Regions from separate parts of the Homo sapiens genome. Here region 2 is linked to region 1. The links are contacts of gene promoters, found by promoter capture Hi-C in blood cells and fetal thymus (Javierre and others, 2016). All regions are on one chromosome and are shown on one strand. Each heading gives the region's core, a stretch centred on a gene start or on the middle of the fragment in contact. The rest is flanking DNA. Distances are from core to core; before and after follow the strand shown.

The links. Contacts are between HindIII fragments. The CHiCAGO score rates a contact against its expected background, and 5 or more counts as called.
Region 2: a fragment that was not itself captured here is called in contact with the fragment with the promoter of F13A1 in region 1 in 1 of 17 cell types (naive CD8 T cells); the score reaches 5.8 in naive CD8 T cells.

Annotation. Positions count from the first base shown.
Region 1 is chr6:6,317,306-6,324,800 of GRCh38, reverse strand. It overlaps F13A1 (coagulation factor XIII A chain), which reads left to right and starts at 4,139. Exons shown (of 15, transcript NM_000129.4): 1 at 4,139-4,214; 2 at 6,119-6,266. The coding sequence starts at 6,137. The region is part of intron 1 of LOC124901253 (a long non-coding RNA gene); the gene reads right to left. The HindIII fragment of the contact is 4,604 bases long and covers 1,821-6,424 here.
Region 2 is chr6:5,473,788-5,481,282 of GRCh38, reverse strand. The region is part of intron 4 of FARS2 (phenylalanyl-tRNA synthetase 2, mitochondrial); the gene reads right to left. Among named protein-coding and RNA genes, the nearest start is that of FARS2-AS1, 19 kb to the right of the region's middle. The HindIII fragment of the contact is 2,013 bases long and covers 2,837-4,849 here.

The DNA of each region.
Region 1 (7,495 bases), core at 2,890-5,389:
GCTGGCTGGGCCTAAACTGTACAAAAATTGTGGCTCATGCTTAACACCTGCTTCCTTCAGGGAGTCTGGAAAATGGCTATGAGCTAGGTAGAGGGTACCTATGTGACCAGCCCCCCATAAACACCCTGAGCACTGAGCCTCTGGTGAGCATCCCTGGCAGATGACATTATATCAGTGTTGTCACAACTCATTGCCAGGGTTGGTAGGCACAGCCCATGTGCCTTGATTAGGACAGGACCTTTGGGAACTTCTGCCTGGTCCTCCAGACTTTGCCCAAGTGCCTTTTCTCTGCTGATTTGGATTTGTATCTTTTCGTCATGATTTATCGTGTAGTATATATGATATATGTACATTTGTATCTGATCATAGCTACGTGGGTGGCCGAGTCTGGTGAGTCCTCCTAGTGAATCACAGAACCTGGGGGTAGCCTTGGGGCCCCAGCACAGGAGTGGTGGGGCTAACTTTGCAGGCGGTATTTTCCAGAGTCCTTTGTCAACTGATTCTAGTGGAGTTCAGCAAAACGGCAGACAAGGGAGGGAGAGGGAGCGGGAAGAAAGGGACAAGCTAGGATCATTCTTCCCTCCCTCTTGACCTCAGACAGTGTTTCTTGGAATTATGGGATCTAAAGCTCCCACCAGACAGGACCACACGGTTCCAGTGCCTGACCTACCCTCAGTCCTCCCGCTACAACGACACCAACTCCTCTCTGCTGTTGCTAATTGTGGAGTTGATTCACCTTCTCGTGTTTGGTTTCTTGTCTCTTCTCTCACCTGTGTAACCAATCCCCTGCCTTAAATTCCTTCTTTTAGAAAGACCTAAAGTGGTTTTTGTTTTCCTGGATGAACCCCGTCTGTTACATGCCTTAAATATTTACATGGCTCCACTTCCATGCCAGGCAGGGGGCATTCAGAAATAAAAGACACCATCCCATCCTTAAGGACCTCAGAGCCTATGCACCTGTGGAAGTTGCATCCCTAGCACAGTTCAAGATTCACTGTGTGACCAGAAACCTTTGTTCTGATGTCTCAGCCATATAACCATGAGGAATACCCTGTAAAATGAATGGGCTTCAACCGCATTCTAGGGCTTGGTGGCTTAGACACATTTTTATCGACTTTGTTTAGCACAAGGAAAGCCATTGCATTTATGATGCTCTTGAGGTTAGTGGTTTGGGGGAGTCAGAAAGCCAACCACTGTGTGTGTATGTTCACAAAGCCAATAATTAGTCTAAGGCCAAAAGTGACACCGTGGAGGTGGTTGTGAGGGTGACAATCCTGTTCTGAATGCACAACTCAACCCCAAGTCCCAGGGGTACCTGGCATCTGCGTAACCTCATCTGAAGGGTGCAAGGGTGGCTGCTCATCCTCCAACCCCACATGGATGAGGGTATCTTGGAATTCTAGACACTCAGATTTGATGTTTGCCAGGAGAACTACCAGAATATGATCGTTAAGGATTGGGGGAGGGTTTAAAAATACTGAGGAGACCTGAAATTGTATGAATGCTGAGGGGAAGCAGTGCTAGACATCTTTAGGGTCTTTCTCTAGCACTCAGCAAGGGATGTGGCAAAGACGGCCTTTGGATAGTTAAGTGGTCAGCAGCCTCTCTCCAGGGAACTCTGGCTGGAGTCCCTACCTTTTTGTACTCTAGTGCAGGTACAGCCAAGGAAACAGAAAATGATCATGCAGTGTGAGGAGCACTACAACAAGGCAAACTCCTTGCAAGACAACTGGGGAGTCAGTGGAGGGAGACTGGGCAGGGAAGAAAGATGGCAGAGGAAGATGATAGGGAAGAAAGATGGAAGCCAAATGGCAGAAGCTTAGTGATGAAGAGGAGGAGAGGAGAAACAACAGTGGAAGGCAGGGAGGGTAGATTGGTGTTGGGGGAAGGTTTTTTAAAAATACTGGAGACCTCAAATTGTATGGATGCTGAGGGAAAGAGCAGTGCTAGAGGCAGGGTCCAGCTTGTATAGGCCTTGTCAGTTTCAGCTTGCAATTTATCCAAAAAGCAAAGAGAAGTAGCCATATAAGGGCTTTGTGCAAATAATTTGATTTCGGATTTTAGCCCTGAAATGCTCATTCTGACTGCACTGTAGAGAATGGACTGGAAAGGGGTACATACACGGGTAGATTCAAGGGCTGTTTAAGAGGTAGGATAGAAAATATTTGCTCAAGGATCGGATTTGATGATTGAGGGAGAGAAACAAGGAAGCCTCAAGAATGATGCCCATGTGTCTGGTGTACCACCTGCGTGCAAAGTGATGGTATTCATTGAGGTAGGGAACTCCTGAGATGCACCAGGTTTTCCAGGAAAGTGATACATCTCATGTTAGACATGATGAGCGTGTGTTGTCACTGGGATGTGACAAATGAGGATAGCCAGTAGGCACTTAGATACGGGAATCTGCAATTCTGGAAAAGATCTTGGCTAAAGACCCAGATTTGGGAGGTGTCAGGATATAGATGGAATTTGAAAACTATGGGAGTTCCTCAGACAATCAAGGAATATTGCGCTGCACTGGAGGAAACCACAGAGTGTTCAATGTCAAGGAGGCCTAGGAAAAATACCTTCAAAGACAGAGTTCAATGCTTCCAAAAGGTCAGGTAAATAAGAACTGAATCCTGTCTTTTGGCCTGAGCACAGGCCTTGGAGACCGTGACCTCCACTTTCAGTAGAATGATGAGGCGGAAGCCAGATGGCAGATACTTAGTGATGAAGGGGAGGAGAGGAGGAGTAACAGCAGGAGTGGGGACATAGGTTGGGGGAGGTTTTTAAAAAAATACTGAAGAGACCTGAAATTGCATGAATGCTGAGAAGACCCACTATTAGCAAGCAGGAGCTTGAAGCTGCAAGAGGAAGAGTACGTAAGAGTCACAGCAAAGCCCCGGAGAACAAGGCAACGCAGAAGCCTGGTTTGGAGATGCAGAGGGAGGAGGGACCTTTCCAACTTCAGTAACAAGAAGAAAGAGGAAAAGATAGATAAGGTTGCAGGCAGGTTCATAGATTGGTAGCAGAAAATTGAGAGAATTTCTAACCAATGGCATCTTTTTTTTTCTTCTTTATAACATTGGGAGATTGAGTGGCAGGGTCAGAAATTTGAAGACAGTAAAGAAGGTTAGAAATAGCCATGTTTGACTGGGTGCGGTGGCTCACGCCTGTAATCCCAACACTTTGGGAAGCCAAGGAGGGTGGATCACCTGAGGTCAGAAGTTCGAGACCAGCCTGGCCAACATGGTAAAGCCCCATCTCTACTAAAAATACAAAAATTAGGCGGGCATGGTGGCATGCACCTGTAGTTCCAGCTACTTGGGAGGCTGAGGCAGAAGAATCACTTGAACCCGGGAGGTGGAGGTTGCACTCCAGCCTTTGCAACAGAGCAAGACTTCATCTGAAAGATAGAAAGATGAAAGAAAGAAAGAAAGAAAGAGTAAAAGAAAAAAATTAAAATTTTAGGGGGAAAATTTTCTAATTTTTGAACATGCACTAAAATGATTTTCAGAGAAAACCAAGTGTTATTTTCTAATCTGCATGGCATTATTAAAGATGTTTACTCATCTTCCTTGGGGCTAGGCATCCCATTCCTGCAGGAAGTCTTGTGGTTAGGCGGTGGCTGTGGCTCTGGGATGATTCAGGAATGCAGACCATGCCTTATTTGCACAGGAGGGACACGTTGCTCTCACTGCATGCATGGTCACAACTGTCTGTGTGACCTGTCTGTGGGAGGGCAGACCCCCCTCCTGCCAAGCCACAGTAGCAGCTGACCTGCCAGGCAAAAGCATTCCTTTGTAAAGGAAACCCTCCCAGACCCTCTGACCAAAGGGGACGGGTGGGGACTTCCTGGCACTGCAGGGCCCCTTGCCTGGTACTCCCAGCAACTGGTTGCGGTGGGGAGGGCAGATCTAGGGATGGGGATGGGGAGGAGAAGTGGGAATGGGAAATTGGGAGTCAGAGGGGCAAGTGGGAGAGAAGGGCGCACCTGCCGGGATAACAGGCCAGATGAAGTAAATAGAAAATCCTCTGAGCTCCCCTACTGGCTCCAGCTGTGGAGAAGGGGGAGGAGAAAACCCTGTGGGACAGGGGAGGAGGGTGAGGGCTCCTCTTAGGAAGTTATTTAAGAGCCAACTGTCTTGTCTTTCCCGAGTCCGTTTGAGGAAGTCCCCGAGGCGCACAGAGCAAGCCCACGCGAGGGCACCTCTGGAGGGGAGCGCCTGCAGGTAAGCCACCGACCCTGCACCCTATGAGCCAGGGCCCGCTGCGTCCACCTTCTGCACCTCGGTTTCCTGGTTGAACCAGCAAGCGGCTTGCTCTGGGCCCTGTGGCGCCGGTCACAGGCAGCTCCACTTGCCCAATCCTGGCTTCCCGCCCCCAACTCCGCACCTGCCCAGCCCAGCTTCTAAGCGGGACTTCTCTCAGGCTCTCGAGGCAGCTCTCCCGAAGCCGTTGCTTGCTTAGAATGCCACCAAATGGGGATGGGGGAGTTGGAGGTGCTTCCCCAAGGGACGAGCCCCCTTTCCTCAGGGAGCAGATTATGGAGCTGGAACACAAAAGGTGGAGGGAGTGGGGCCAAGTGAGAACAGCCTGCTAGACTGGAACCCCGCCGGCTTGGCTCCCCACTCCTGCGCGCCTCCCCACTCCTGCGCATCGCCTGCCTCCGTCCCAATTTGGAGCTGAACTCGAGCCACTTCTCCTCCTTAGACCCGCCCAGAAGCGAGGGCTCCTGCCCGCCGCACTCACCCAGCCAGGCGTGCACCTGGGGCTCCCCCCTTCTCCCCCTTAGCACTGTGTCTCCCGACAGCGCGCCACACTGTTCTGCACCCCTGGCAATGCCGCAGCCTACCTTCGGTATTTCTCACTAGAGGATGGCTCTCGCAGCCTTCTCCCTATCATTAACCCTTTTTCGCTCTTCTCCCTCCCTTCCCCCGTCAGCTCACCAATGACTGTAAATATATTTATCTATACTTATGGATACCCATTCACACCTTATGCATCCAAACACTCCTGTCTCCTTCTCAGACCAGACACCTTAGGCGTGGTTGTCTTTTCTCCAGCATGTTGTTAGTGCTCCACATGTCTCTGGAACCATCTCTCTACTCTGGTGGCCTCTATAATGGGGACTCTTCACCTCTTGGGGGTGTGCCTGGTTTTTGAAAATAGCCAAGTCTCCAGGAGTCATGACTGGGTAATCCAGGGGATCAAGGGGGAACCTTCACTGGGCCCAGAAACAAAGTCCCCCTTCATTTGGTCATTTGGTCAACAAGTACTTACTGGGCACTGACCGTCAGGTGTGTGTTGTTTAAACTGGCTCAGTGCCTGCACAAGCTCCAAGGGAAGGGGAAGCAGGCTTGGGGAATGGGAAATGTTGGCAACCCTGACTTCTTAAGCCTATTGATAGCCCTATTGAAAATTGCATGCCCAACCTCTCCACCTCCTTATCCTCCTCCATGTGGCTCAATTTCCAAAGCAGTTCCTACCTCCTCACCCCTAAGTGGATTTACTTATGGCTCTTCTTGGGCTCCACCCTAACCCTATCAGACTATAATCTATCAGAGCAAACATTCTGTTTTGTTCTCTGATGTATCCCATGTACCTAGATCACAGCCTGGCATGTCATAGGCCCTCAATAAATATTGGTTGAATTAAATTGCAAATGTAAACGCTTTAGAAGACAACATTTGTCTGGACATGGTTGTGTGCGTTTATTCTTAAAAGTGACTTATAATCTCATAAATCTGTATGAAATGAACATAGATACAGCACATGCATATAACAGGAAACATTTCTTGCGAAGATGCTGCTGTAGGATTATGGAGGGTGGGGGAATCTGGGTCTCCAAAAATCTTTTAATTTTTAAATTTCTTTGAATAAGCCCCTTTTCTTCTGCTTTCCATATGTTTTGACACATACAAAAATCTCCCCAAGATCCTTGGGGAACTGTATTCCATCATTAGACTAATCCTTGCTGCCACTTCTCAGTTTTTATTTATGCAAACGGCAAAATGTGTTGCTCAAGTGCTATCACACACAGATATATCTGTTTCTCTATTTTGGAATCCTTGTCTCAAATGTTACTCACTTTACATGCCTTTTCTGTTGTCTTCTTTTTTTTTTTTTTCTGAAGGACCTTGTAAAGTCAAAAATGTCAGAAACTTCCAGGACCGCCTTTGGAGGCAGAAGAGCAGTTCCACCCAATAACTCTAATGCAGCGGAAGATGACCTGCCCACAGTGGAGCTTCAGGGCGTGGTGCCCCGGGGCGTCAACCTGCAAGGTATGAGCATACCCCCCTTCCCCACCACTCTGGGTCCAGGCACAGCCGGGCCCTGGCCCCTCTTCCCTGCAGGTAAACATCCTCTGTCTCCACTGGGGTTCCCACAAAAGGAAGCCCCCTGCCAATCTCTGGTTTTATAAAGGAAGAAAGCAAAAGCTTTCTTTTAAGTGGTGAAAGCACCGAAGACCCAGAGCCTTGTCCCAGTTCTGCCCCTTACTGACCTTGTAACCTCAGAGAAGTTGCTTTGTCTTTCTGCCTCTCAACTATTTCCTCTACAAAACCAGAGTGCTGGATTAGCTAGGGCCTCTTCCAGCCCTACTGCTCAATGCTTTAGAGAATTTTCTCTAGCTGGAATATTCCACTTCCAAAATATTGTGGCTGTTTTGATTGTCTGGCTTGCACCTCCTTCCTTCTCCCTCCTCCCTCCTCCATCCATTGCTGTGAATTTCAGAGCCGGGGAGAAGTGCCAGACTCTGACAGTAATAGAGATAGAAGCCCTCTATTTCTCTCCAGAGCAGCCTGGTGAGCTGGCAAGGCAAGCTGCTTCCCCAGCCTCTTGCCTCTGCCTGATCCCTAGAAACCTGTTCCGGGTACAGCAGCCGGCAGCTGACCTCCTCTCAGCCCTGTCAGTGGTGACAAGGTCCAGGTGCCAGCACTGGTTTGGTGATACAGACATCATTCCCCTGGGCCATGGCAGGGACATTCAGACTCATGTCCCCGAGTGGCATTGAGCAGGGAGTCTTTTTTGTCAATAACATTCATGCACCAAAATCTAATTTTACTCCTAAGGGTGTTCTGTGCTGGGTTTCACTGGGGATAAACACCTATTTGCTGGGATAGGTGAGCATGGTCATGCTGGAGCTGTGTGGTCGATTCCCCTCATTAGAAGGAGACCAATGCCTGAAAGCCCAGATTGATGCAGCTCTCCATATAGCAAAGGGAAAGGGGAAGTGCAGTTTATCCAGCAAGCCAGACACTTGCCCAGGTGTTGTGGACTGGTGTCATTGTGTTACTGTCACACTAGATGATTTGATATCAAATAGTGAAATCAGGGAGGTATCCAGTACCATCCAAGTTTGGGAAAAGAAGTTCACAGAACAGAAGGGCATCTTCAGTCAGGTGGTAGAGTTTGAGGGGCTAAGACGAACTTGTAGTTCTGAAATCTGTCTCCCAGCTGGATGCCACTCTCTAAAACCCCACCTTGACAGCCACAGAACTGAGTTTAAGAG
Region 2 (7,495 bases), core at 2,594-5,093, 840 kb after region 1:
TATTAACACGTCCGCCTGGCACTGTGTCCACATTTCCATGTGGTGTGCCTGGGCAGGAACACACGGAGGGCTCCCCTGGGCTCTGGAGGCAGGTGGTACCCGTTCTGAACCGAGACGAGAAGATGCTTGTGCCAGAATATTTCTCTTTCCAGCGGGGAGAGACAGGGAGTTGAAAGGGAGGTGTAAGACGTGCATAAAGGACTCACTGCCTTTTCCTGCTGCCAGTGAACACTGTGCTGCAGGCTAACTGCAAAGACTGTTTTAAAGAGTGCTTTCATTTTTAATTTTGCAAAATGGCTTCGACCAACAGACTAGCACATGCACAAATGCACGTATGCGTGTGCACATACACACACTCATACACACTCGATGTTGTTTTCATTTTTAGTCTTCTATAGATCCTGCAGAATCCTGCTTTAAAGAGACATCCATTATGACACTATAAATTCACCATGCAGTTAAACCTAGGAGGAAGGAGGAAGGATAAAAGATTGCAGGCAACTCAGTCAGAAAAGAAGCCACCTATTTGGTAGCTTTGCTTTAAGTGACAGTGGTAGCAGAAGTTTTTATTTGAGGGAAGGGGACAGAGTGGCAGAGAGGCAAGAAGGAGATAGCAAAGGGCAGGACTTACTCCAGATCTTTGACAATTTCCCAAAATGTGCTTGAAACCGTCATTCTTACCTCAAAGAGTTTATCCAAAAGTCACATGTCTCAACCTATCTCAACTTGCAGTTAGAATATTTGCACTTAACTTACTAAAACAGGTATGCCATTAGGTAATCTTTGAATTTTAGTATATCTCAGGTCAGGAAGAGAAAAGAAACACCGGATACAATAAACCAGATGCGTTCTGCGCCATGTTCTTACTTTTTTTGAGCTGTATATGTACTTCTATAATATTGCCTGCATTTTTCAACAGCCTTATTATAAGTTAACTCATATTGAATCTGTGACAAATTACATCCTCCACTTCTTTCCACTCTGGAGTTGTGCAATTAATTTTTTAAACCTAATTTGAAGGCTTCATATTTAACTTTACTATTTTTCACCCTGTTATTTCTGGCGCATCCGTTTAGACGATCATGATTTTCTTGACTCAAGATCAAGTCACTAATCACATTAGCTATCCTCCCAGCCTTGCGTCAACTGCCAGTTTGATAAACATGTCTTCATCAAAGTCGTTGATAAAAATCGTGAACCAGACAGTTCTGAGGACAGGGCTCTGCATCACCCCAACTAGAAATATTCCTCCAGGTTAACACTAAGCCAATAATCTACTCTTTGGAAAGATCTGTGCAGACACAGACATGACAGAAGGGGGCCGTAGGTCCCTAACTCTTCCAATGGTCCTGCCCTTCTCCTTCTCCTGAGGAGCAGAGGGTTGTGCTAGAACAGGGTGCATCAATATAGCTAGCTGGTATCTCCCTGAGACTGGTATATTCAGGTGTGGCTGTGTGGGTTTTGGCTTAACTGCTTTAAAGTTGTTACCTAACCATACAATTAAGTTGTAATGTGGAGTTAATAAAATAATTCAAACCAGAATGATTTTTTTAAATCGCTGTGGAATTTTATATACACGATACCGCCTGAACTGGGTCACTGCACAGGGCTTTAGCAATTGCTTTATTATGCAGAGATTTGAGCTGTAACAGCATTTGTTATAAGAAGTTATAACTTCTGTGGATATATAATGTAAAAGTAGAAGTTATGGATCAGAAAGATGACAAAATTTAAAAGATAAACAACTGTGTATTAGAAATGCTTTTATCCTGCTGGGAGTTAAAACTAGATGACTATCTGGAGACTTTGCTGTCCTGGGTTTTCAAGAAAAGACTGTCCCCTGGTCAAACGCATGAACACTAAAGCAAAGTAGAACTCAATTCCTGCTTCAGCCTCCTAAAATGCACTCTATGTCATGTTGCCTCTCCCACTGTGGTATCTCCTGGAATGGAATATGACATTTTGAATACAATGAGTAGAATCTAACAATGCCAACAAGAAAGAGGGCACACACCCAACACATTTTGTAGGCAGCATGTTAAATGTTGTAACCCCAAGGAGGGTTTCCCTAAAAAAGGGATGACAAGTGAAAAGACCGTACACAGAGAACCAACTGTGCTCAGATGGCCAGACCCTTAACCTAAGCAAAAGTGACTACAGGCTGATACGCATTGCAAGTATGTCCAGGATACAGATTCACGGGTTCACCCCGATGGAATTCCCAGAAGCCATAATTTTACTACATAACAAACAAACTAATTGCTTTTACATACTAAAATAAATGTGAATATATGATGGTGTTTATAATTTGTATATTTTATAGTCAAGAAAAGATAGGGAGCTTCTAAAAATATTGGCACTTTCAGCAAGTATTTGGGGCTCTGTCTCACTCCCCTGCAGGCCTGAGCACTCTCTCCTTGGCTCAGAGGGAGAATAACGCAATCCTGGGAAGCCCTGCTTTGTGGCCACCAAGAGGGAATGAACAAACCACAACCATCTGGCCACTCATGGCAGCTCAGACTAGGTATACACAGCCCGAAGAGCACTAATTTGGGGGAAGCCAGGGAAGCACCCTGGACGAACCACCATTTTAATGGTGGTGCTGGTTGTTCCGCACTTGCAAGACAGGGGCACTCAGTCGATGTGAGAGAATCATGGTGGTTTGAACGCTTATCTTGCCTGGGCATCTGGACATGTATTCTATGTTCATTGGTAGCATAGACTGGGATGAACAGATGGGGAGCTCCAGCCAGGGTCTGGGAAACAGGAGGCTCATGCTCTACTCATGCTTCTGCCATGAGTTATTAAGGACACTTAACCTCTCTGTGCCTAAGCTTCCTGTTTCATAAAACGGAAATGATATTCCTGTCTATTCCCAAGATTAGCTGTCAGGATGAGATCAGATAGTAAGAAAATAATCTGTAAAAGCATCATACAAGTGAAAGATATATGATCACCACCTATCTGTCTGTACCATACTAGGATTTTATCTAGAATTGGAAAAAGCTACCAATAGACAGCCAGGTTAAATAGTAACTGGTCACAGGTTAGGCTAATGAAATTATCTGGAGCCCCTGTTACAGCCACATCAATCTGCGCTCTTTCAGTTGGATTCCACACATATTGACTGAGTGTCTTCGTGTGCCAGGTTAATACTGACATCACGTTTAATATGTGCCAAGCACTAAGTGTTTTATTGTATGTGTGTTGGTGGGGGCGGGTCATTGTTACTGGTTTGTTTTTTGTTTGTTTGTTTGTTTTCTGAGACAGGGTCTCGCTCTTTCACCCAGGCTGGAGTTCAGTGGTGCAATCATGGCTCACTGCAGCCTCGACCTCCTGGGCTCAAGTGATCCTCCCACCTCAGCCTCACAAGTAGCTGGGACTACAGGTACACACCACCACGCCCAGCTCATTTTTTTTATTTTTTGTAGAGATGAGGTCTCACTATCTTGCCCAGGCTGGTCTTCACCTCCTGGTCTCAAGCCATCCTCCCATCTTGGCCTCCCAAACTGCTGGGGCTACAGGCATGAGCCACCACACCCAGCCTTGCCTAAGTATTTGATATGGATTTATTTGCTTACTCCTCAAAAGATATCAGTTAATTACACACACAAAATTAATTAATTTACAATAATTTGTAAACTGAGGCCCAGAGACATTAAGTAATTTGCCCAAGGTCACCCAGCTAGTAAGACTGGATACAAACACAGGCAGTCTGACTTCAGAGCCAGTGTTCCTAATCACTATGTTATATGTCCTGGAGATGCCGCAGTGAGACAAGACAAGTGAAAACATTGTAGCATTCTCTAACTCAAGTCAACTAGGCCTTATAATAGTCACAATTGGCATTAATCAACCCTGTTCTCATGGGTCAAACAAATAAAAGTGGTATTTCAGGAAAGCAGGAAGTGTCGGCAGGAAGACAATAAGCTAGGGTAATGAGATAGGGAATACCTGAAGGAGGTCTGTTGTGAGCTGAGACACTGCTCAGAAACTAGTTCCTGGCTAATCTCTGACCATCTAAGTATTCTTAGAACTAGCTCTGTTTAGCCCTGTTAGACCCAAGGACAGTCAAGGTCTTTACTTGGTTTTGGTTTTGTTCTAATAAAGGAATTATACACAAATTATTATGATAGGCACATAAAACAGGGGCTCTGGCCACATAAATTGAATTGGACATGGAGTCTGCTTTTGAGTCAGGCATAATAACTAGGAAAGAGAAGTACCAATTGCCAGGCCTGATTATCTTTATAAAGAAAGAGGGATATTTTCTTCTGATTATAAAAGTAGTCTGTCTTCATTTCTACATTCTCAACTACCAGCTAGAGCTCCACACTGATGCCTAACTGGCACTTAATATCCTACACTTCCAAAATACACTTCCTTGTTTTCCAGTATTGCAACTGCTATTCCTCCTACATCCTATTCCTCCCAATAACCCCCTGGTGCAGCCTCAGGAGTTAAGCCCACCTCTCCCCATTTCCACTCTGGCCGCAGTTCCAAGTCCTGTTAGGTTTGTCACATCCCTTTTGTCTGGCCCTTCCCCACTGCACTGCAACAACCAAGGGGCAGGCTCTCAATACCTAGCTGTGAACTCCTCGGCATGGCAACGGCCTTCCATAAGCCCTCTCCAACCCCTCCCCATGATATTTTATAAAATATACAAGGGCAACATTAATCTCCCTCCCTCACTTCATTCTTTCATTTGTTCATCCCTCCCTCACTCCATTCATTCATTCATTCATTCATCCAATAACTATTTATTGGTCACCTACCGATACTCTTCACACAGTTCTAGGAGTTGTGAATTCAGTTAACAAGACAGGTAAGTTCCTGTCCAAATGAAGCTTCACTGATAGTAAGGAAGACAGGCAATAAACATGAGAATAAATAAACAGGATAATTCACCAACTGACAAATGCCATGAAGAAAATAAAGCAGAGTGATATAAAAGAAAACATCAATTAGTATGCTTCCCACTCAGGTAATAGAAAACACGACTCAAAGGGACTTGAGAAGGAGATAACATCTCACAAAACAAGAAGTCTAGGTGTGGGCATGTTCCATCCATATCCTGGTTCTCTCCCGTTCGCCGGGGGCTGCCTTCTTCTGAGTGTCAACTGTCCTTACTCAGCAGACCCAGACCTCACCTCCTGATCTTCAACTTGGAGGGAAGGAAGAGGCAACATCTCTTTAGTGACATTTTCTCAGAAGGGAAGACACTTTTCCCCCATCATGTCTCATTGGTCCCTCACTGGGTCACATGCCATGAATGAACCAATCACTGATAATAAGAGAATTACTATGATCAGGTTAGCCCCTGGCCAACGGATAGGCACACCTTCCCTGAGTTACAGAATGGCTAATGGAGCAAAATCATGGGAGAAAACAACATCAGGGGAGCAACGACCGGCATCCATGACAGCAAGCCACTTGAGACTGGGACACAGAGAGGGGAATTGGAGGTTGGGAGACAGGCAAAGAGTGGAAGAGGGACTCTCTGAGCTGCACCTGAGTAATGAGAAGGCGGCATCCATGCAAAGCCCTGGGGTAGGAGTATTTCAGCTACAGAGACCAGTAAGAGCAGAGACTCAGCTGGAAACAGTAAACAGTGTGACTACAGGAGTGAGGGAAGTAAAGAGGGGTCTATGATGTCCAAATAGGAGGCAGGTGCCCATGATGCAGAGCCTTGAAGGCCATGAGCTAGAGCCGAGATTCTACCTGAAGCTGCATGGGAAGTTTTTGGAGGACTGTGGTCAGGGGAGAGTCCTAGTCTGAAACGCACATGCTTCATGCAACGTCTTCTCATCTGTCCTCTTTTATTATCCCTCAACTCACTGACTATAAAAGGAAGTCTAAACTCCTTGGCTGAGCATTTAAGGTCCTCCGTAATCTGGCTCCAAAAGGCTCTTTCTACATCATACATTCAAATCAAGTTGTTTCTTTGTTATGTCCAAAGTAGTACTACGCCCACATTCTTGCACGTGCCTAAAATATACTTCTCTTCAAGCCTGCATATCCAACTCTTTTTGAGAACTGTCCAAGAAATCTAGTCTTTCAACCATTGGCTATGAGTGAATTGGGAACCTCTTCAAAGACTAAGTCAGATGCCACAAAACCTTCCCCAGTACCCACGGAGAAGTCATTTCTCCTATCTGCAAACAATCATATCCTTTCATTTAGTTTTCCTCTTGTGGTACTTGTCAATTTCCACCTTGTATATGGTTCTTCCTGTACACTGTCGTTCACCAAGTAACAATGTTTTGGTAAATGGCAGACTACTTATATATGACAGTGGTCCTGTAAGATGACAGTACTGGGCTGGGCACCGGCGTGGTGGCTCATGCCTGTAATCCCAGTACTTTGGGAGGCCGAGGTGGGTGGATCACGAGGTCAGGAGTTCAAGACCAGCCTGGCCAGCATGGTGAAATCCCATCTCTACTAAAAATACAAAAATTAGCTGGGCGTGGTGGCGGGTGCCTGTAATCCCAGCTACCCAGGAGGCTGAGGTAGAGAACTGCTTTAATCCAGGAGGAAGAGGTTGCAGTGAACAGAGATCATGCCACTGCACTCCAGCCGGGGCGACAGAGTGAGACTGTCTCAAAAAAAAAAAAAAAAACAGTACTGTATTTTTATTGTACCTTTTCTATGTTTAGATATGCTCAGATATACAAAAATGTACCGTCACATTACAATTGCCTACGGTATTCAGTAAAGTGCTGTACATGTTTGTAGCCTAGGAGCAACAGACCATACCATACAGCCTAGGTGTGTAGTAGGCTACACAATCTAGGTTTGTGTAAATACACTCTATGATGTTCACACAACGACAAAATTGCCTAACAACATGTTTCTCAGAATGCATCCCTGTTGTTAAGTGATGCATGACTGTATATCTTATCTCTACAACACACCTTCAGCATAAAATTTGGGACTGTGAGTCTCCCTGTGTCCCACCTTCATCTCCACTTCAAGTACCCGGTACACTGCCCAACATATGTCAATAATAAATAAATGAAATAATGCATTAATGAACAAACAAATGAACAAACCGTGCTGGCTGGCCCTGGTTACTGAAGCCCCAGCAGAAATTAATACATGTAGACAGCGGCATGTGCCATTGGAGATAACGGAAATGTGATGATGGCTCGAGAAGTATGCAGTCCTTTAGTTTGATGGGTATGAAGGACATTCATGAATGATGTGTTTTCCTGCCTTCACAGAACTGAAGGGCTGGTTATTGGGAGGCTACATGGAGAGCACAAATTTGGTAACAGGAGGGATCCTGAGGTTCCTAAATCATTCATGGATAGACTGGGTTTCTGGAGTGGTGTTCTAAAAACACAGTGATATCAGCAGCTAGGGATGCAAGGGTGTAAAGGTATCCAGCAGGGCGGCGTCCATTCTGTGTGGCCTGTGCACTGAGATCTTTGCTTATGCTGATTATTTTCTTTTTCTACTATATTGAAAGACACCGCTGCCTACATCACAAACA